Linked DNA regions of Homo sapiens: all the other regions are linked to region 2. Evidence: promoter capture Hi-C in 16 types of primary human blood cells and fetal thymus (Javierre and others, 2016). All regions are on one chromosome and are shown on one strand. The core of a region is centred on a gene start or on the middle of the fragment in contact, and the rest is flanking DNA. Distances in the headings are between cores, read along the strand shown.

Region 1 (3,477 bases), core at 499-2,998, 680 kb after region 2:
AGCCTGGGCAACGGCAAGACCCCATCTCTACAAAAATTTAAAAACTAGCTGAGTGTGGTGGCATGTGAGTGTGGTCCCAGCTATTTGGGAGGCTTAGGTGGGAAGATCTCTCGAGCCCCAGAGGTGGAAGCCGCAGTGAGACTTAGTCGCATCACTGCACTCCAACCTGCATGACAGAGTAAGACTTTGTCTCAAAAATACAAAGATAATTGGATTTTATGAAAATCACAGTATCATAATTTTATCATCTTAAAATAAGGATATGCTATACTGAAGGAATTTGATACAGAAAATGTCTGAGAAGGGGTACATATGGAACAAAAAAATATGAGACATTCTCTCAAATGAATTTACGAAAATTCTAAGGTGGCATGTTCCTCCACAAATTATAAATTCTTAGGGAAAAATAACTTTGTTGCCAAAGCTACCAAGTAGATGGTTGCTGTACTGCTTTCAAGCTACAGCACAAGCATGCCTGGAGGGCTAGGCTAGATTATTTCTGAATGAACTTCAATAATAATTCCCACAACACAAACTGAGTACTCATTAAGTTCTTGACACTGTATTAAGTATTGTATATATATCACATGAATGCTCACAGCAAGACTATGAGTTAAATTATTCTCCTTAAAGAGAAGGAAACTGAGGCAGAGAGGTTATATAATTTACTCAAGATAACACAGTAAGTGGTAGACCCCTGATAATCTGGCTTCTAATAACTATCCTAAAATATTGATTACACACTTAACTATGTGCCAGGGACAAAACTCAGTCAATTTGGCTATCATATACTCATATACACTTTCTTTATTCCAAGTGTTTCCTACATGGAAATGAATTTGTCATTATAAATCTTAATAAATCATAATGACACATTCATAAGACAGAACTATGAAATGTATAGTTCAGAAAGTAACTCTTTTTTTTTTTTTTTGAGACACCGTCTCGCTCTGTTGCCCAGGATAGAGTGCACTGGCGTGATCTTGGCTCACTGCAACCTCTGCCTCCCAGGTTCGAGCAATTCTCCTGCCTCAGTCTCCCGAGTAGCTGAGATTACAGGCACCCGCCATCATGCCCAGCTAATTTTTGTATTTTTAGTAGAGATGGTGTTTTCTCACATTGGCCAGGCTGGTCTCGAACTCCTGACCTCAGGTGATCCACCTGCCTAGGCCTCCCAAAATGGTGGGATTACAGGCATGAGCCACCATGCCCAGCCCAGAAATTAACTCTTAAACTAGCATTAAAATACTCAGTGTACAAACCACATAAAACTGCATGAAATCTAAGAATTATTGTTACCAGTCTGTCAAAAGTTTTGGTAAACTTTAAAAGAAACAAAGACAGTAAAATGTCAGAAAATATGAAATACACAATATTTGTCACATCACATAGATCACTGGTAGATAAATAACTATAGTATGATATGGCCAACTAAATAATTTTAAAACTGCTAAATAATACAACTTATTCCCAGAAATAATTCCCAATTAGGTAATCACGCTTCATTAATCATAACTCCCAAGTTCACAAAAGTATGGCAAAGCTAACGCATTCATGCTCTGCTGACAGTGTAAACTCGCTCAAGTCTTTGGGGAGGCAAAAATCTGGCAACTGTAGAAACATTTATATCCTTTGACTAGTAATTCATTTGAGATTAGTATCCTATAGAAACAATTCATAAAAGAAAAAATGCACAGAGATGTTCAATTCAATGTCAAAATAGGCATAAACTGAAAACTATTATTTTCCTGTCAGGCATTTAGAACAAATTTAATACTTATTTTTCAACTATCAAGTAACAATCAAATATCATAAAGGTTATACAACATGGAAAAATACAATGCTATAAAAGTAAAATAAAACTTATTTGATATAATTCTGTAAAAACTGCAATATATATGCACAAACTAGAAGAAAACAAAAATAATGAACACAATTATTTGTTAGTATGGCAAAACAAGTTGATATATAAAAAAATTGTTCCGACACGTTTAATAAATAAAAGCAGGCTGGGTGCAGTGGCTCATGCCTGTAATCCCAGCACTTTGGGAGGCCGAGGTGGGCGGATCACAAGGTCAGAAGATCGAGACCATCCTAGCTAACACGGTGAAACCCCGTCTCTACTAAAAATATTAAAAAATTTGCCGGGCGTGGTGGTGGGTGCCTGTAGTCCCAGCTACTTGGGAGGCTGAGGCAGGAGAATGGCATGAACCTGGGAGGCGGAGCTTGCAGTGAGCCAAGATCGTGCCACTGCACTCCAGCCTGGGCAACAGAGCGAGACTCTGTCTCAAAAAATAAATAAATAAATAAATAAATAAATAAATAAATAAATAAATAAATGCAAGCAAACATACTAGCCCGAACAGTAAAATTAGAAAAACCAAAGCTATAACATTGGAGCAAAGCTAAAAAAATTAGAATGACAAAGGTTTCGGTTCTGCTAGCAAACTAAAGAATATTTAGGGAATATATTTATAAACTTATGGTCAATATTATAGATAAAAATACTATATATTACAAAAATAACCAAAGTCCATATGGTATTTTGCCAATTACAATTATTTCTCCCTGTCTTTCCCTACCAGTCTTGTTGAGAATCTCTGTGGTAATAAGCCACTACTACTGTTGGAAGTATTTTGTATTCCTTGGGTAGAAAGGCAAAAAAGTGGCTGAGAACCACTATCTTTGTTAAGATACAGAATGCAAATATGGGTGAATAGGCAAAGCCCCCAAAACATTGTTTACATCTCTTCTTTACTGTCAATGTCAAAATGCCAAGGAAAAAAAATCAATAAACATACTTAAAAAATGAAAAATGATGCTGGGTGGTGGCTCATGCCTGTAATTCCAACACTTTGGGAGGCCGAGGCAGGTTCGAGACCAGCCTGGCCAACATGGTGAAACCCCGTTTCTATTAAAAATACAAAAATTAGCCAGGTGTGGTGGCGGGCACCTGTAATCCCAGCTACTCAGGAGGCTGAGGCAGGAGAATCACTTGAACCTGGGAGGCAGAGGTTACAATGAGCTGAGAGCGGCACTGCACTCCAGCCTGGGTGACATAGCAACTCCGTCTCAAAAAAAAAAAAAAGAAAAGTGAAAATGAATACACTAGTTTCAAGGTTGCCAACAAGAATAAATTGAAAAGATATATATAATGAATACATATTTATTTATAATTATATAATATGTAACATTAAATACACCTGTAACACAATGTGTAAAAATAGGCCCGGGTGCAGTGGCTCATGCCTGTAATGCCTTAAAAGTGAAAATGAATACACCAGTTTCAAGGTTGTCAAAAAGTCTCAACAAATTGAAAAGACACATATAATGAATACATATTTATTTATATTTATATAATATGTAACATTAAATATATTTATATTATAAAATAATGTGTAAAAATAGGCCTAGTGTAGTGGCTCACGCCTGTAATCCCAACACTTTGAGAGGCCAAGGCGAGTGGATCACTCGAGG
Region 2 (3,256 bases), core at 383-2,882:
GACCAGCCTGGCCAGCATGGTGAAACCCTGTCTCTACTAAAAAGACAAAAATTAGCCGGGCTTGGTGGCAGATGCCTGTAATCCCAGCTACTCGGGAAGCTGAGGCAGGAGAATCTCTTGCACCCGGGAGGCAGAGGTTGCAGTGAGCCGAGATCCTGCCATTGCCCTCCAGCCTGAGCAACAGAGCAAGACTCCGTCTCAAGAAAAAAAAAAAAAAAAAGCAATCTGCCCCTCCCCATGAGGTTTCTTTTAACGTTTCTCAGTATTATAAAAGAAATACCTGCTGAGGTAAAGTCAAAATAATCAAAATGACTTTAAAAGTTTCATTTCATCCTAATCTTTTTTAAACGGGAAGATAATATGCTTTCTAAAGCATATTTTAAAATGAACAGGAACCACAGCAAGGGAAGTTTTAAAAAAAAAATTACATCCAGCCTTTTTATCTATAAAAACAAAGCTTGTTACAGAACAAACACGTTCACAGTAAAAGACCACTCGCTGAGGCACGAACTGAAGAAATGCTACTGTACTTACAAACCGCTTCTAGCCACATCACATTTGGCTTAGATCACATAAACGAACCACTGATACTGTAAATAACTGCTATTAAGTGAAAATGCGGGGGGAAGGCGAGGGTTGACTAACTTCATAGAGAAAGCTTTAAACTCTCAGGCTATTTCTCAAACATCCAACATCCTTTATCCCGTGGGATAAGTGTAATACAGTGTGGTACTATTAGAGCACTCTTCAACATTAATAGTCGCACCATTCACCCACTCCTACCTACTTGCAGGGCGCCAAATGTCCTCCCTAGAGACCCAGGGTAGGGAGCGCTGAGCACTGCCTCCTTGCCTCGTCTGCAGGGACAGACTGTGGCCCTCCAAGATAAGGGGCGCAGAGAGTTCCTAACCGAATAGGCTGCTCGGAGAGCAGCTGCCAGCCAACCCCTGGGAAGGCAGCTGTGGAAGTGGAAAGGCAGCCAGGGGTCTTTGCCTGGCGTAAGAAAAAGGTGGTCGCTAGTCTTCCCAGGGCACGGGAGTCACAACGTCATGGTAACTAACATACCCCAAAAACGGGTAAGGGAGAAAATTTGGCGCAGTGCTCCAGGTGCCTGGGCAGAAGCCTTCGGAAGGGCCAGATACTGAGGGTACCCTCGGGATAAAGGGAAGAGTCTAAGAAAGACAGGGTGGACGCCCGTGCAGTGAGGAGCTTCCCAAACTAGGGATGGCAGTTCTGTCTCCGGAGGGGACGAGACACCCCCTCCCCCGCGCGAGCCTTCCCGGGTGATCTCACACGTTCCACAGGCAGGCGCTGCGGGGCAGAGACAGCAGGTCCAGACAACGGGCCGCGGGGCCAGGGCGCAGAGGGTCGGCGGCTGCCCACGTGCCCAGGCCTGAGGGGCAGAGGCAGGGGTACCCCGTGCCCGCAAGGGAGAACCAGGACCCAGCAGGTCCGCGCTCCAGGGGCCCCTCTCACCTGCTTCGTCTGCAACCTTGGAGTGGCGAGGAGAAGGGAGCTGGTGCTCGCAGGGTGCCAAGCAGGGAGAAGACCACCGTCATCTCCCGCCCCCAGCCCTCTTCGCCGAGCGCAACCGGGTGCCAGCTGCAGCAGCTTAGGCACGTTCCGATAAAGTAAGGTGGGGTAAGCCGATGCGGCCCTGTCAGCTCAGCCCCTCGCCGGCCGCGAGGCCCCGCCCCCGCCCCGCCTTCAGGCCCCGCTCCCTCCCAGCCCCGCCTTCAGACCCCGCCCCCAGCCCCGAACTTCCAGCAAGACGGGCCGCTTCCCGCCCTCGAGCCCCGCCCATTTCCAGGAGCCTTGAGCCCAGAGTCTCCGTCCCGCCCTCAGGCCCCACCCACAGCCTCGGGCCTCCGAGCCACACGTTCCCCAACCCCGCCTTCAGTCCCCGCCCCCTCCTCCAGCCTCGGAGCCCCAGGGTACCCGGCCCCGCCCTGCCGGCTGGGAGCCTCCCAGCCGCGATCCTCCGGGGCGGGACTTCCGGCTTCCCTGCTCCCACAAAATGGTAGCCGCCGTGGGGGATGTCCAGTTTTTTTTCCTCTTCCCAAGTACAGACGCAGAGCAGACTTGTCTTTCCGCTTAACCTCAACCTCGTGTGATCTGCCAGTTTCGCTCCCGGTTAGCCCAGGACTTTTTATAGCATAGAGTTTTAAAGCAAGGGCTTAGAATCAGACCTGGGTCAAAATCCTGCCTTCCACCTTCACCAAGGCAGTGTGACCTTGACGTTCCTACATAAGAGATTAAAATGTAAACCCTTAGCCCTGAGCTTGTTTTAGAATCTGGGCCCCGTCCATGACTGCTTCTATTCTATTGCGGTACGGGGGTGGGGTGGGGGTGGGGAACTACATGCATGTCCACTCAGTATACTGAAACTGGTTACATTGATGGAAAACTTCCAAAGCTTCTTGAAATAAAGGTATTGAAACTATCCTCACAGGGTTTATAAGAATTCTGGACAAAAATATAATTAAGCATTAATCAGGCTACACTTTGACCCACTTCCTTGTAACCCGAAAGTCGGGTAGAGCTAGATAGTACATTTGTATCCCGTTGTCCCTATAGATAGGCTTTCTGATGTTAAGAGTCGTAAGGCTTTTTAAGAATTGCTTAAAATGTTTTTCAGACGCCAAATTCCAGCGAAACAGCTGATGCCAGCCAGCTTGAAGACCCCTGCCACAGAAGAAGGGAATCAGCATGAGAATACAGCTTCTTCATCTCGCTGTCCCATGACTTCGCCCTGTACTCTTCAGCCAATTAATGATCTCCACACTTGGGACCACTCTAAAACCCTTAAGAACCTGAGACTCAAAGTCCTCCTGGAGACGAATTTGAGGTTTCCTCCTATCTGTGTTTGGTGGCCCTATGATTAAACCTCTTTCTCTTCTGCAACCTGGTGTCCCAGTGTATTAACTTGCCATGGGCATCAGACAACAAACCTATATATAGTATCCCAAATATGGTGCTCCACTTTGAAACCTGAAGAAATCCTGCAATTGAGTTAGCCTTTTGAAATAAAAATTATTTCAAATTTTAAAATATTTATATATGTTTCCACTTAAGATATCTACAAGCATTTGTTTACAACCTTTTATCTTGCTTTGCATCTTAAACATTTCTGTATGGCAATTTCCGTGTCTTCCTATCATCTCGGCCATCTTAGTGCAAAGATACAAAATTGTGTGGCTTATTAAGAAAAATTACAGTAAGCTAAGGGTAGGTTAAAGGATCTGAAACTTAGCAG
Region 3 (3,236 bases), core at 441-2,940, 650 kb after region 2:
AGACAAAAAGCAGAGACAAGCCATTTTCTTGTACCCTGTACAAATTTTTGACCTACACAATCTGTGAGCATTATAAGCTATTTTATAACTAAATTTGGAACACCTCCTCATGATATCTGCGATTTATCTAAATAACATATTATCCTTCTAGTGCTTCTTAAATGTTTACAAACTAAGGAATACTGATATATAAATTTTTAAGTAAGAGCAAAGTATTCTAACAAGATTGGCTGTAACTGACCACTAGTAAAACTTACTAAATAATGAGTGAGAACAGTATGGCACCGCAGTTCTCAAACAGGATCCTCTACACTCTTAAAAATTTAGGCTCCCAAAGAACGTTTTTGTTTATGTACTATCAATACTGACCACATCAGAAATTAAAACTGAGAAATTCTAAAAATATTAATTTATGATTTAAAAATAACAATGAACTCACTGCATGTTAACACATATTTTTTAAAACAATATATTTTCAAAACAAAAAATTTAGTGAGAAAGGCATTATTTCCCACTTTTTGCAAATCCTTAACATCTGGCTTAACAGAGTATAACACAGCTGAATTCTCCTATGTGCTTCTGGTATTCAACCTGTTGTGATATCATCATGTATCCTCTAGAAAATGGCATCAAATCCTTGTGAGATAATGAGAATTTTAAAAAGGTAAATATTTTAGTATTATTATAAAAATGTTTTTGACTTCACAGACCGCTCTCACATTATGAGAATTCCTGGTACAGGCATATCTCATTTTATTGTGCTTAGCTTTATTGCACTGTGCAGATGCTAGTCTTAAAAATACACGTAAATCTCAGGGAGAAAGCAGATGCTGCAGATTTTTTTCGGATACTCTTTATCAGATTAAGAAAGCTTCCTCCAATTTCTAGTTTCCTGCGAGTTTTAATGATGAGTAGACATTGAGCTTTATCAAATGCTTTTTCTGCATCTATTCAGATACTATTTTTTTCTCTTATTGTTTTAATGTGGTATATCACACTGAATGTTGAACAAACAAACCAGAATTTCTTAAATAAATCCTCCCTTTTGCTCGTATTTTAAGATGTTTACAATCTATGTCATAAGAAATAACCTTGCCAGGTATCTAAGTTCAGTGGCTTTATAAGAATTGGGTCATGTTAATTCTTTTCCATTCTCTAGAAAAATCTGCATAAGATAGGTACTAATTCTTCCTTAAATGTTGGAAGAATTCACCAGTGAAGCTATCTGAGCCTGGAGGTTTCTCTTCTGGGTGGTTTTAAGTAATGAATTCAGTATCTTTAAATAGATACAAACCAAAATTATTATATCAGTTTTGTTCTTCAGCCAGGTGTGGTGGCTCATGCCTGCAATCCCAGCACTCTGGGAGGCTGAGGCAGGTGGATCACTTAAGGTCAGAAGTTCGAGACAAGCCTGGCCAACATGGTGAAACCCTGTCTCTACTAAAAATTAAAAAATAAGCTGGGCATGGTGGCACACACCTGTAGTCCCAGCTACTTGAGAGAGGCTGAGGCATGAGAATCACTTGAACCTGGGGAGGTAGAGGTTGCAGTGAGCTGAGACTGTACCACTGCACTCCAGCCTGGGCAACAGAGTGAGACTCTGTCTCAAAAAAAAAAAAAATAAATAAATAAAATAAATCCCAGTGCTTTTATGTATGTGTAGAAACTGAAAAATCTGTAACAAAATGCAAAAGACAATGAATAAACAAGGCAGTCATGAAGAATTGTAATTAAGCTAGAGGACTTTTATTACCAGATATCATGACCCATTATAAAATTACAATAATTAAGACACTGTGGTATCAGTCCAATGATAAACATACAAAGAAATGGAAAAGAAGGAGTACAGAAATGGAACCACACATAAGGCTACCTGATTTGTACAAATGCTCAACTGCAGTTAAGTGGGAAAAGGATGGTCTTTTCAATAATTGGTTCTAGAAATTTTATATAGCAAGAGTACTTGACTCAACTAATAATAATTATGTAATATTCCCTTGACAACAGTAGTTTATCAGTGCTTTAGATCAATGTTTCCCAAAGCATGGTAGCTATCATGGAAAAAAGATTTTTAGCCAAATAAATTTGGGAAATGTTGAATGTGTAGGCTTCATTTCACAGGACTTTTCGTGACCTTAATGTTATGTCAATTAAGGATTCATAACTTTAAAAAATGCCCCATGAATTCTATCTCACATTATACTAAAAATTAAGTCACAGTAGATCATAGACCTAAAAGTGAAAGGCAAAGCATAAGTTTCTAGAAGAAAAATAGGAAAGAATCTTCATGATTTTGGAGTAGGCAAAGGTTAAACAGGACACAAAAGGTCCATAAAAGAAAAGATTGATAAAACAGATTTTACTCTACATAGTGCATTTTATTCTGTTTAAATTATACCTCAATAAAAAGCAAAAAAGGAGCAAACAGTTATTTAACCTAATACTAGGAAAAAGACAAAAATTATACAGGTAACTACATCCAGAGACAGTGTGTTCCAGGAAACCTTACAGAAGCTTTGAGAAGGACACAAACTATAAAAAATAATTAAAAATAAAAGAATATGTACAGTCAGCCCTCTGTATCTATGAGTTTTGCATCCATGGATTCAATCAATCTTGGATCAAAAATATGTGAGAAAAAACTGCATCTGTACTAAACATGTACAGACTTTTTTTCTTGTCATTATTACCTAAACAATATAGTGTAACAACTATTCACACAGCATATGCATTGTAGTAGGTATTAAAAGTAATCTAGAGATGATTTAAAGTATACGGGAGGATGTGCATAGGTGATACACAAATATTACACGATTTTATATAAGTAACTGGAGCATCCTCAAATTTTGGTATCTTCAGGAGATCCTGGATCCAATCACCCACAGATATTGAGGAACAACTGTATATCTAAAAAAAACGACTGATTTTCACAGGACTCTAAGTAGAAGTGGAGTAAGAGATTGAAAGAAAAGCCTGGCATACAGCAAACCAGTAAGGGCTTGACAGACAAGTCATACAACCCAACAACTAAGAAAATGCACTCATCTGAAAACTGGTTTAAAAAAAAAAAAAAAAGAAAGAAAGAAAAAAGATCAGTGTGTTTAATCTGCCTTTTGTGCATAAAATGTATTTCCAGTAACCAAAGAGTTGATGAAGGAAAAGTCTTTTATAGAATTTCAACAAGTGCAGAAGAATAAAATAATTAGAAAATTGCCACTTTAGCTGGGTGCAGTGGC

Evidence for each region. Contacts are between HindIII fragments. The CHiCAGO score rates a contact against its expected background, and 5 or more counts as called.
Region 1: a contact is called between a fragment that was not itself captured here and the fragment with the promoter of GPR155 in region 2, in 4 of 17 cell types (naive CD4 T cells, non-activated CD4 T cells, naive CD8 T cells and 1 more). The highest score is 7.8, in naive CD4 T cells.
Region 3: a contact is called between a fragment that was not itself captured here and the fragment with the promoter of GPR155 in region 2, in 1 of 17 cell types (naive CD8 T cells). The highest score is 5.3, in naive CD8 T cells.

The regions. Positions count from the first base shown.
Region 1 is chr2:175,160,845-175,164,321 of GRCh38, forward strand. All of the region lies in intron 1 of ATF2 (activating transcription factor 2), which reads right to left. Among named protein-coding and RNA genes, the nearest start is that of MIR933, 5.1 kb to the right of the region's middle. The HindIII fragment of the contact is 8,086 bases long and covers 1-3,477 here.
Region 2 is chr2:174,485,397-174,488,652 of GRCh38, forward strand. It overlaps GPR155 (G protein-coupled receptor 155), which reads right to left and starts at 1,633. Exons shown (of 16, transcript NM_152529.7): 1 at 1,477-1,633. It overlaps GPR155-DT (GPR155 divergent transcript), which reads left to right and starts at 1,992. Exons shown (of 3, transcript NR_183819.1): 1 at 1,992-2,020; 2 at 2,639-3,256. RefSeq lists silencers at 1,148-1,330, 1,594-1,773 and an enhancer at 1,184-1,253. The HindIII fragment of the contact is 1,758 bases long and covers 657-2,414 here.
Region 3 is chr2:175,131,482-175,134,717 of GRCh38, forward strand. The region is part of intron 3 of ATF2 (activating transcription factor 2); the gene reads right to left. Among named protein-coding and RNA genes, the nearest start is that of MIR933, 35 kb to the right of the region's middle. The HindIII fragment of the contact is 1,643 bases long and covers 870-2,512 here.